Linked DNA regions of Homo sapiens: region 1 is linked to region 2. The links are contacts of gene promoters, found by promoter capture Hi-C in blood cells and fetal thymus (Javierre and others, 2016). All regions are on one chromosome and are shown on one strand. Each heading gives the region's core, a stretch centred on a gene start or on the middle of the fragment in contact. The rest is flanking DNA. Distances are from core to core; before and after follow the strand shown.

The links. The method cuts DNA at HindIII sites, captures the fragments that hold promoters and counts their contacts. A CHiCAGO score of 5 or more calls a contact.
Region 1: a fragment that was not itself captured here is called in contact with the fragment with the promoter of IRF2BPL in region 2 in 4 of 17 cell types (naive B cells, total B cells, naive CD8 T cells and 1 more); the score reaches 8.7 in naive B cells.

What each region holds. Positions count from the first base shown.
Region 1 is chr14:77,588,161-77,594,278 of GRCh38, forward strand. The region is part of intron 2 of SPTLC2 (serine palmitoyltransferase long chain base subunit 2); the gene reads right to left. Among named protein-coding and RNA genes, the nearest start is that of SPTLC2, 25 kb to the right of the region's middle. The HindIII fragment of the contact is 2,386 bases long and covers 2,874-5,259 here.
Region 2 is chr14:77,027,458-77,031,982 of GRCh38, forward strand. IRF2BPL (interferon regulatory factor 2 binding protein like) reads right to left here and starts at 1,251. Exons shown (of 1, transcript NM_024496.4): 1 at 1-1,251. The coding sequence starts at 335. It overlaps LOC107984638 (a long non-coding RNA gene), which reads left to right and starts at 11. Exons shown (of 4, transcript NR_190002.1): 1 at 11-354; 2 at 1,831-2,023; 3 at 2,204-2,279; 4 at 2,370-4,115. LOC105370579 (a long non-coding RNA gene) reads right to left here. Exons shown (of 2, transcript NR_169510.1): 2 at 4,102-4,525. RefSeq lists silencers at 381-880, 1,001-1,210, 1,411-1,540 and an enhancer at 2,304-2,824. The HindIII fragment of the contact is 11,624 bases long and covers 1-4,525 here.

The DNA of each region.
Region 1 (6,118 bases), core at 2,817-5,316, 560 kb after region 2:
CTCCTAACCTCAAACAATCCTCCTGCCTCAGTCTCCCAAACTGCTGGGATTATTGGTATGAGCCACCACACCCAGCTGGAAAATGTATTTTCTACTAAAGAAGGAAATAGCCTTATGAGATAGATTTAGAAGTAACTGAAACATGACAAAGTTGTTTCAAAACTTAAATTAAGAATTTTTAAATCCCAAATAATTCCCACCTGAGGAAGTGTTGAAAATGGAGTCATCACACAGTTAAAATTCATTATAGTTGGACGCAGTGGTGGATGCCTATAATCCCAGGATTTTGGGAGGCCAAGGCAGGTGGATCGCTTGAGCTCAGGAGTTCAAGATCAACCTGGGCAACAAGGCGAAACCCTGTCTCTACAAAAAAAAAAAAACAAAAATTAGCCAGTTGTGGTAGCGTGCGCCTCTAGTCCCAGCTACTCAAGAAGCTGAGGTGGGAGAATCACTGGAGCGTGGGAGGCAAAGGTTGCAGCGAGCTGAGATTGTGCCACTGCACTCAACCCTGGGCAACAGAGCAAGATCCTGTCTCTGAAAAGAAAAAAAAAAAATCTGGCCCAGGCACAGTGGCTCATGCCTATAATCCCAGCACTTTAGGAGGCTGAGGCAGGCGGATCACTTAAGCCCAGAAGTTCAAGATCAGCCTGGGGGCAAAACCCAGTCTCTACAACAAAACACAAAAATTAGCAGGGCATGGTGGTACGTGCCTGTAGTTCCAGCAACTCCGGAGGCTGAGGTGGGAGGATCACCTGAGCACAGGGAGGTCGAGGCTGCAGTGAGCTGAGATTGTGCCACTGCACTTCAGCCTGGGTGACAGAGTAAGACCTTGTCTCAAAAAAAAAAAAAAAAAAAAAAAAAAAAAAAAACACACAAAGAAAGAAAAGAAAAAGGGAAAAGGAAAGCATTATAAATTCTAAAAGTATTTTATAAACCAATAATTCTGTTTTTATCTCTACTTAATGAAGAAAAGTAGGTGAAATACTCAATGAAAGGTTTTCAGACTACAACTTTTAAACCTTTCAACCATGGTTAATTAACGACTTTCCTTACTGTTCATATAGGTCATACCACCGTCTGTCCTTTCCTGTTTTTAATGTTAAAAACAGGAAGCCACTTCCTTGCTGTTTCTATGCTGTCCATGAAAGCGCAGAATGAGATTTCAAGATAAAAAAACACTGGTTTTTCCTACATCTAAAACAGTCATTTGTATGTTTGTGTGTGCATGTGTGTACGTACACACCTACCTCGACTACAAATACTTCAAAATACTTTACATTGTTACTGTTACCACCACTCACAATACCATTCATATCTTAAACTTTTTTTTTTTTTTTTAGAGATAATGGCCAGGCACGGTGGCTCATGCCTGTAATCCCAGTACTTTGGGAGGTCGAGGTGGGCAGATTACCTAAGGTTAGGAGTTCAAGACCAGCCTGGCCAACATGGTGAAACCCTGTCTCTACTAAAAATACAAAAATTAGCCAGGTGTTATGGCAGATGCCTGTAATCCCAGCTACTTGGGAGACTGAGGCAGAAGAATCGCTTAAGCCCGGGAGGCAGAGGTTGCAGTAAGCCAAGATTGCGCCATTGCACTCCATCCTGGGCGACAGAGCGAGAGTCCGTCTCCACACACACACACACACACACACACACAAATACAAAAAATTAGCTGGGCGTGGTGGTGCACGCCTGCAGTCCCAGCTACTCAGGAGGCTGAGGCATGAGAATCACTTGAACCCAGAAGGCAGAGACTGCAGTGAGCTGAGATCATGCGATTGCACTCCAGCCTGGATGATAGAGCAAGACCCTGTCTCAAAAAAAAAAAAAAAAAAGACAAGGTTTCACTCTGTCACCCAGGCTAGAGTGCAGTGGCTCAATCACAGCTCACAGCAGCCTTGAACTCCTAGGTACAAGTGATCCTCCCACCTCAGTCTCCCAAGTAGCTAAGACTATGGGTGTAGGCCACCACACCCAGCTAATTTTTTAATTTTCTTGTTGAGACAGGGTCTTGTTACATTGCTCAGGTTGGTCTCAAACTCCTGCGCTCAAGCTATCTTCCCACCTCAGCCTCCCAAAGTGCTTGAAATTACAGGTGTGAGCTAACACGCCTGGCCTCTGGCCTTGTATCTTAAACATTTACCGAGCGTCTAATATGTGCCAAGCACTCTATAGTACAGAGTAGTAAACAAAAAGGTAATAATCCTTGCCCTCTTGGAATTTGTATTCTGGTGGAAGAGATAAACATATAAAATACAAAGTTTGCTAGTCCAGGCTCAGTGGCTCACGCCTGTAATCCCAGCACTTTGGGAGGCCGAGGTGGGCAGATAGATAAACATGAGCCCAGGAGTTCAAGACCAGCCTGGCCAACATGGCAAAGCCCTGTCTCTACTAAAAACACAAAAATTAGGTGTGGTTGCACATGCCTGTAGTCCCAGCCACTCTGGAGGCTGAGGCAGGAGAATTGCTTGAACCTGGGAGACAGAAGTTGCAGTAAGCCGAGATCGCGCCATTGCACTCCAGCCTGGGCAACAGAGCAAGACACTGTCTCAAGAAAATAAAAATAAATAAAAATAAAAATAAATAAAGTATGTTAGACAGTGACAAATACCAACAGAAACAAAAGCAAAAAGGAAAGGGGGAGACATGCTGCAAATTAGCTGGGGTGCCCTGGGTAGAACAGAGGATAAAATGGAAGTGAGGGAACTAGCCATGGGACTATTTGAAGGAAAAGCTTTCCTGGCATGAAAAACAGGGAAAACAGGTAACAGGGAAACTCTTGCAAACCTAACACTGGCACTAGTCCAAACGGATACAGAGGTAAACCTACTGCCACTAGTCCAAACAGATACAGTGGTAAACCTACTACACAAAGCTTCTTTGAAAGGTTTATTTTGAGTATAGTTTTTTACCAGTGAGAAATCCCTATAGTAAGTAGAGATGACTGCTCCATATGATGAAATATTATTCAGCAATAGGAAGCAATGAAGTACCGATACATGCTACAACATGAACTTCAAATACATTACGCCAAGTGAAAGGAGCCAGACACAGAAGAACATACACTGTATGATCCCATTTACATGAAACATCCATTTATATGAAAAGTCCCGAATAGTAAATCTACAGAGACAGAAAGTAGATTAGTGGCTGCCGAGGGTGGGGAGGGTGGATGAGGAAGGAGTGACTGCTAATGGTTCATGGTTTCTTTTTCAGAAGAGAAAAACATTACAAAATTAAATTGTGGTGCTGGCTGCACAACTCTGTAGATATACTAAAAACCATTGTATCGTACACTTTAAATAGGTAACCTTTATGATATGTCAATTATTTAAAAAGACTACTGCTGTCCTGTGCCCAGCAACTAACACAAAACAATGAAATACAGTGCTCTTTATTTTTTATTCTTCTTATTTTTTTTAGACAATCTCGCTCCATTGTCCAGGGTGGAGTGCAGTGGTGCAATCTTAGCTCACTGCAACTTCCACCTCCCAGGTTCAGATGATTCTGGGGGAGCTAAGTAGTGCTCTTCTGTATGTATGTATGTATGTATGTATGTATGTATGTATGTATTTATTTTTAGACGGAGTTTCTCTCTTGTTGCCCAGGCTGGAGTGCAATGGTGTGATCTTGGCTCACTGCAACCTCCACCTCTCTGGTTCAAGTGATTCTCGTGCCTCAGCCTCCCAAGTAGCAGGGATTACAGGCATGTGCCACCACGCCCCAGATAATTCTTGTATTTTTAGTAGAGACCGGGTTTCACCATGTTGGTCAGGCTGGTCTCAACTCCTGACTTCAGGTGATCCGCCCGCCTTGGCCTCCCAAAGTGCTAGGATTATAGACGTGAGCCGCCGTGCCCAGCCAGTTGTGTTCTTTTTAAATGTAGAATCATACACAGAATTAAAGAAGACAAACCAAACAATCAATCCCCTAGCTTAATGCACCAAAATGACAGGTACCAGAATATTCTTAGTACGCTACTTTTTTTTTTTTATTTTGAGACAGTCTCTATTGCCCAGGCTGGAGTGCTGTGACAAGATCTCAGCTTACTGCAACTTCCGCCTCCCAGGTTCAAGCCATTCTCCTGCCTCAGCCTCCCAAGTAGCTGGGATTACAGGTGCCCACCACCACGCCTGGCTAATTTTTGTATTTTTAGTAGAGATGGGGTTTCATCACGTTGGCCAGGCTGGTCTTGAACTCCTGACCTCAGGTGATCCACCCACCTCGGCCTCCCAAAGTGCTGGGATTATAGGTGTGAGCCATCGCACCCGGCTGTACGCTACTTTTTGAAGGAGGCCAAGAATAAAATCCCTCTGGGAATTCCTAGTAATGTATTTGAATTTCTTTCTTTCTTTTGTATCTTGAAAATAAGCCTATTGGGATATAAACATATAATGTCCCTTCGCCGTATCCTATCCCTCCCATTTTTAATCTACTTATTTTTTGTAACTTTTATTTTAGGTTCAGGGGTACGTGTGCAGGTTGTGCAGGTAAACTCGCATCACAATGGCTTGTTGTACAGATTATTTTGTCACCCAGGTACTAAGCCTAGCACCCAATGGGTTATTTTTTCTAATCCTCTCCCTCTTCCTACCCACCACAAGTGTCATTTTCCTCTTTGTATCCATATGTTCTCATCATTTAGCTCCCACTTATAAGTGAGAACAGGCTAGGCACGGTGGCTCACTCCTGTAATCCCAGCACTTTGGGAGGCCAAGGCAGGCTGAGGTCAGGAGTTTGAGACCAGGCTGGCCAACATGGTGAAACCTTGTATCTACTAAAAATACAAAAAATTAGCTGGGCGTGGTGGTGCATGACTGTAATTCCAGCTACTTGGGAGGCTGAGGCAAGAGAATCACTTGAACCGTGGAGGCGGAGATTGCAGTGAGCCGAGATCACGCCACTGTACTCCAGCCTGGGCGACAGAGTGAGACTCCATCTCAAAAAAAAAAAAAATTAAAAAAATTAAAAAATAAGTGAGAATGTGGTATTTGGTCCTCCCGTTTTTAAATATCTGATCATGAACAAGCTGTGGAGGCAAAATGTTAGTTTAAAATTTTGTCAGTGTGTGGTAACTACCTACCATAATTTACTCCTTACGTTCCTAGCTATTTCCTATCTAAATATTAGAATATTTTTTTCTGAATTAAATTTTTTCATTTTGTAGAGATGAGGTTTCATTATGTTGTGTCAGCTGGTCTCAAACTCCTGGCCTTGAGTGATCCTCCTGCCTCAGCCTAGAACATCTTTATTAATTCAAGCTTTTGCTGTATCTGTCACGTACGTGTTTCTGAACTACTAGCTTCACCTCACATCACAAAGAAATAATCCATAGATTGAGAAAAACAACATTCTCATCCAAAACACCACGAATAACAGAGGATTAAGGGGTAAAGAATTCCAAGAATTTTATGCAATGTATATAAAATAGAACAAACTCATGGTAACTCATCTTTATTGGTATGATCATGTGATTTAGTTGTATTCAAAGCAACATACGGTATTTCCTTACATCAAAGAATTAACACAGTTAAACTGGGCTCTCTTTTATAATGAAATGAGGAAGAAAACCAGGATGTGGTTATGAATACCACTCTCTCAGTGAAATGAGGAAGTAGCAACATTATGTTTGCATTTTATGATCCCAAGCAACCACTTTCCCTCACCTCCTTCCAGTTTAACACTTAATTTGCCTCCCTCTTTCCCCATCTCTAATCCAACATTAGAAAACAAACATGATCTATCACAGGAAAGGAATGACTTTTCCTTTCCCTCTAAAAGCTGAATTTTTGTAAGAAAATGGCAGAAGTTGGCTGTTTTAAATGCTAATGTTATCTACTGGGAATATTCTATTGAAATGAATTTGAATAATTTAATAAAATCCTCTCCATAAACTGCAGAGGCAAATGCTCTCCTCAGCCTCCCATTTCCTTGTATTACTTCCTCCAAGAATTGTTTCCTGATTAACCCTATGCTACTCAGATACTTTTTTTGTTCTATATCTTCATATAATCTAAGTATTATTTACTTGTATAATGGTTTTGCAAAGGCCCATAACTTTCAAATGTTTGTTTCCTCAACAAAATTAGAAACTACTTAAGAATAAAATCTGTGTGTT
Region 2 (4,525 bases), core at 1-2,500:
TGCTGCTGCTGCTGTTGCTGTTGCTGTTGCGCGGCGGCGGCGGCGGCCGCCGCTGCTGCCGCCGCCGCCGCCGCTTCCTTAGCCGACAGGGCCACTGTCTTGACCCCGACGGGCGGCGGCGGCCCGGGGGAGCGGCCGTCCTGGAAGCAGCCGTGCGCCCGCTTCAGCTGGCGCGCTGTCTCGATCACGAATTCGATGCGATCAGCGCCCTCGTAGTTGACGCAACCGCGGCATACGGGTTCCGAGAAGTCCCAGATCATGGCCCAGGGCATGCGGGGCAGGTCGCACAGGTAGCAAGATTGTCTCCGGGACGAGGACACCTGCGCCGCCGACATGATGCCTGCCCTGGGGAAGGTAGGCCCCCGCCCGGGCTGTCTCCGCGGCGCCTTCTCCTCCGGGAGGACTGGCCGGCTGGGGAGGGAGTCCGACTGCGGGGGAGGGAGGAGGGGGGGCGAGAAAGTTCTGCCCCAGGGGCTGGAGGGAACGCGAGTCTCCACCGCCGGCGCAGCGCCTCGCCGTGGGGGCTCCACCGCCCGGGCAGCGGACGGGTTCAGCCCTCTCTTCGCCCCCACCTCCTACTGCGGTTGACTCGTCGCGAGGGGAGCTCAGGCGCCTTCTTCCTGGTGCTGCAGACTTGGGCTGGAAGCTCCCGGCCCGAGGGGAGGGGGCGAGGGTGCCCGGTGGTGGCCGCCGTTGCCTCTTGGCCCCCTCCCCGGAGTGGCTGGTGCGTGGAAGCTCGAAAGGGGCTGTCTCTTCCTCTCCCCGGGGACCCCCCTACGAGCTGCGTCCTCTCCCCGACGGGCCCCCTGGGGCGAGGGCCAGAGGGTTCAGTGCCACCCGGTGCCCGGGTCCAATCTTGCTGAAGCCGCTGCTTCCCCGGAGGACCGGGGGAGGGGGTGGCAGCCGAGAAAGGACCTTCTCCCCTCCGCAGCGTCGGCCGTTCTGCTGGCGGCGACTGGGTTTGCACCCCGGAGGGAGCCGCCGCGGCCACTGCTTCCAGGACGCACGAGAGCAGAGGAGAGGAGTGCACGCACGCAGGCTCCCGCCGCCCCCAGGCCTGGCCGGCGCCCGGGCCGCCGCGGCTGGCGGCGCTCACGTTGGCTGCAGGGCGCTCGCGCGGCGCCTCGGCCCGGGTCGCATCCCTTCCCGCTCGTGCTCACGCTCGCCCGGAATGTGGGGTTGTGATTGTTACTCTACGTTCCGGAGGCGCGTCTCGGCGCTCCTGCTCCGGCTGCGGCTCGCGCTGTCCCCGGCTTGGCCGCGCGGGATGCCGCCCGGGCGGAGCGCTGACGTCACCGCCATGCTCTGCACCAGTTCTTCCCCCTCCCCTTTACACTTCCTCTGTGGAGCCCACTTGTTGCTCAGGCAAGGCGCATGCGCGGCAGGACGCCCAGATTCCTCCCAGCCGGCCCCTCCTCCGCGCCTCCGCCCTCCCCTCCCCCCTCGCCGTGTGTGTACAACAGCTGAGGCCCGGCGAGCTAATGCTGGAAGTCCAGAGCTGGGGGTGGAAATTAAACAGACGATGACCTTTCCTTTCCCTGCCGGGCATTCCCAAGTAAAAACGCATTTAAGAACCACTAGCGTCGTTTCCGATCCCTGCTCCCCACCCCACCCCCAAGCCTCGGCAGTGAATTTAAATGTCCTGTTTCAGGATTTTTCGCCGTGAATTTCGTATAAGGTATTAACCATTTCATCTGCGGTTGAACCTTATCCCCCCCGGCATGGATGTTAAATTCATCGCCACCACTGATGCCGAAGCACCTGCAAAATTAGCTGTTTTCCAATCTTCCAGAAATTGTCTTTTCTATTTGTTTTTGTGCCCTGATCTAGGAACCCGGGCTTCAACGATAGAGCTAAATGAATTCAGAGTGCGCTACCCTTCCCCCCAGCCGCACTTTAAAAATTTTGGCTGAACGTCTGAAGAAGATACGAGCACCCCGAGGCCTTTAAGGAAAACAGGCAACTGGCTGCGCACAGCTGCAGTTCAGGGCAGGGAGGGGGAGGGGCCGGAGAGGCCAAACAGGTGAGTGTTTTTTCTAGAGTTTGATTTTTAAAAGGTGGAGGCAGCATTTAATAATACTGATACATTTTTGTAAAGCACAGCCGCAGTTTTCAAAGTTCTTTCTCAGGCGCTGTGATCTCACTCCATGTTGCCCCAGAAGGCGGAACAAGGCCGTGATTTTTTTTTTTTTTTTTTTTTAAGACGGAGTCTTGCTCTGTCGCCCAGGCTGGAGTGCAAAATGGCGCGATCTCGGCTCACTGCAACCTCTGCCTCGCAGGTTCAAGCGATTCTTCCGCCTCAGCCTCCCAAGTAGCTGTGATTACCGGCACCCGCCATCAGGCCCAGCTAATTTTTTGTATTTTTGTAGAGACATGGTTTCACCATGTTAGCCAGCTGGTCTTGAACTCCTGACCTCAGGTGATCCTCCCGCCTCGGCCTTCCAAAGTGCTGGGATTACAAGCATGAACCACCACGCCCGGCCAAGGCCGTGATTTCTTCTGCCTTACAAGATCACTGCTCATCAGTATTGCTTATGGCACGATGGATATGTTGGTCATAGCTCTAGTTGGGGCATTTCTATTGATTATTCTAATTATTGGGTTTGCTTTTTTTTTTTTTTTTATTTCATGAAAACTGAGATAATCCCAGGGAAGGCTGGAGAAGGGAAAGCAATATAATGGGATTTCGGATTCTGAAGTGTGGCCCACCAGATTGAAATTTCCTCTCCATCACTAACTGGCTCTCCACCCTTAAGCTAGTTACCCACAAAATCTCTCTTTTCCATGGAAAAGAGAATGGAATGATAGCTCCCAGGTTGTTAGGGTTGTTTGAGATTTCAACTTCGGTTTTTTGTTTTTTTGAGATAGGATCTTGTTCTGTTGCCCAGGCTGGAGTGCAGTGGCACACTCGCGGCTGGCAGCAGCCTGACCTCCCAGGCTCAAGTAATCCTCCCACCTCAGCCTCCCTAGTAGCTGGGACTACAGGCATGTGCCATTACACCTGGCCAATTTTTTTGTATTTTTGGAAAGGGATGGGGTTTTGCCGTGTTGCCCAGGCTGGTCTCAAACTCCTGGGCCCAAGTGATGCACCCACCTTGGCCTCCCAAAGTGTTGGGATTACAGGCATGAGCCACCTCACCCGGCCTCAATTTGTTTCTTGTCATAAGAAGAGATAACGCTTACTTAGACTTGCCGTGGGACCTTAGTAAACTAGGTGGCTTTACTTGCATCACCCTTAATATTATCTACATTATTAAGGGGATATTATCTATAGTATTTTGTTGTTGTTTTGAGACAGAGTCCACTCTGTCACCCAGGCTGGAGTACAGTGACGCAATCTCAGCTCACTGCAACCTCCACCTCCCAGGTTCAAGCAATTCTCCTGCCTCAGTCTCCCAAGTACCTGGGGATACAGGCGCCCGCCACCACACCCAGCTCATTTTTGTATTTTTAGTAGAGACGGACTTTCACCATGTTGGCCAGGCTGGTCTCGAACTCCTGACCTCAGGTGATCCTCCCGCCTCAGCCTCCCAAAGTGCTGGGATTACAGGCATGACCCACCGTGACCGGCCTATTACAGTATTAAACCCTTAATATTATCTACAGGGTAGATTCTTTTACCTCCATTTTACAAACCAGGAAAGTAAAGAGGCTATATAACTTGCCTACAGCCATTAGTGATGGGGCTGGGATTTGAATCCAGTAAATCTGATTTGAGGTGTCTTTGACAAGCTCAGGCTTGCAGAGGTGGTTTGGGGTGCTCAAAATTCCCATCAGCCCCAGTTGATTTGGTGTTACATACAATCTTACGTAAGTACTATGCCAATACACCTTCATAACCAACCCCCAGCCTCCCCTTCCAAGCGCATTTGTACCACTGAGTTCTATATACAGAAGTTGTAGATCTGTCACTACCAGACTGTAACTTAAATACACCATACAGAATGGAGAGCAGTGTTGGACTCACAGTTAGTGTTAGTTATTATTAGTATTGATACTAGTGTTGGTACTATTGCTGGTTGACATGTGACAGTACTTAGTAAACTGCATAAATTGTGAGGATCACTATTATCACTCTTATTACTAGTAATTGCAATAAAGTTCAGTGGAAGCAACAAGAGATACTTACTTTTATTTTGACACTTGACTTCCAGAGCCTGTTCCCCTATCCAACCCTCCCCAGAGCCCCAATCTCCCACTCATTCTGGGGCCCCTGAGTGCAAAGGAAAGGCGAGTTTTTAAGGACAGAAGAGGAGGAGGAGCCCTAGGGAGCCCCTCTTTCATCTCAAAGCAGCCAGATTTCTGTTTTTGCAAAACAGTGAGCTCACTGTGCACTCTAGAGCAATAATAAACTTTCTCTGGCCTGCTGGCACTTTGCAGTGATTCCTCTGCAAAGAGTTGCTTGGGGAGCATTGCCTCACTCTCCCAGACTTCAGCCCTCCCCACACTACCGCTACCCTGGAGTGAGTCAAAACATAGGGGTGGGAAATGGTTTGACATCCCCGCCAGCCTGGGGCTCCTTAGC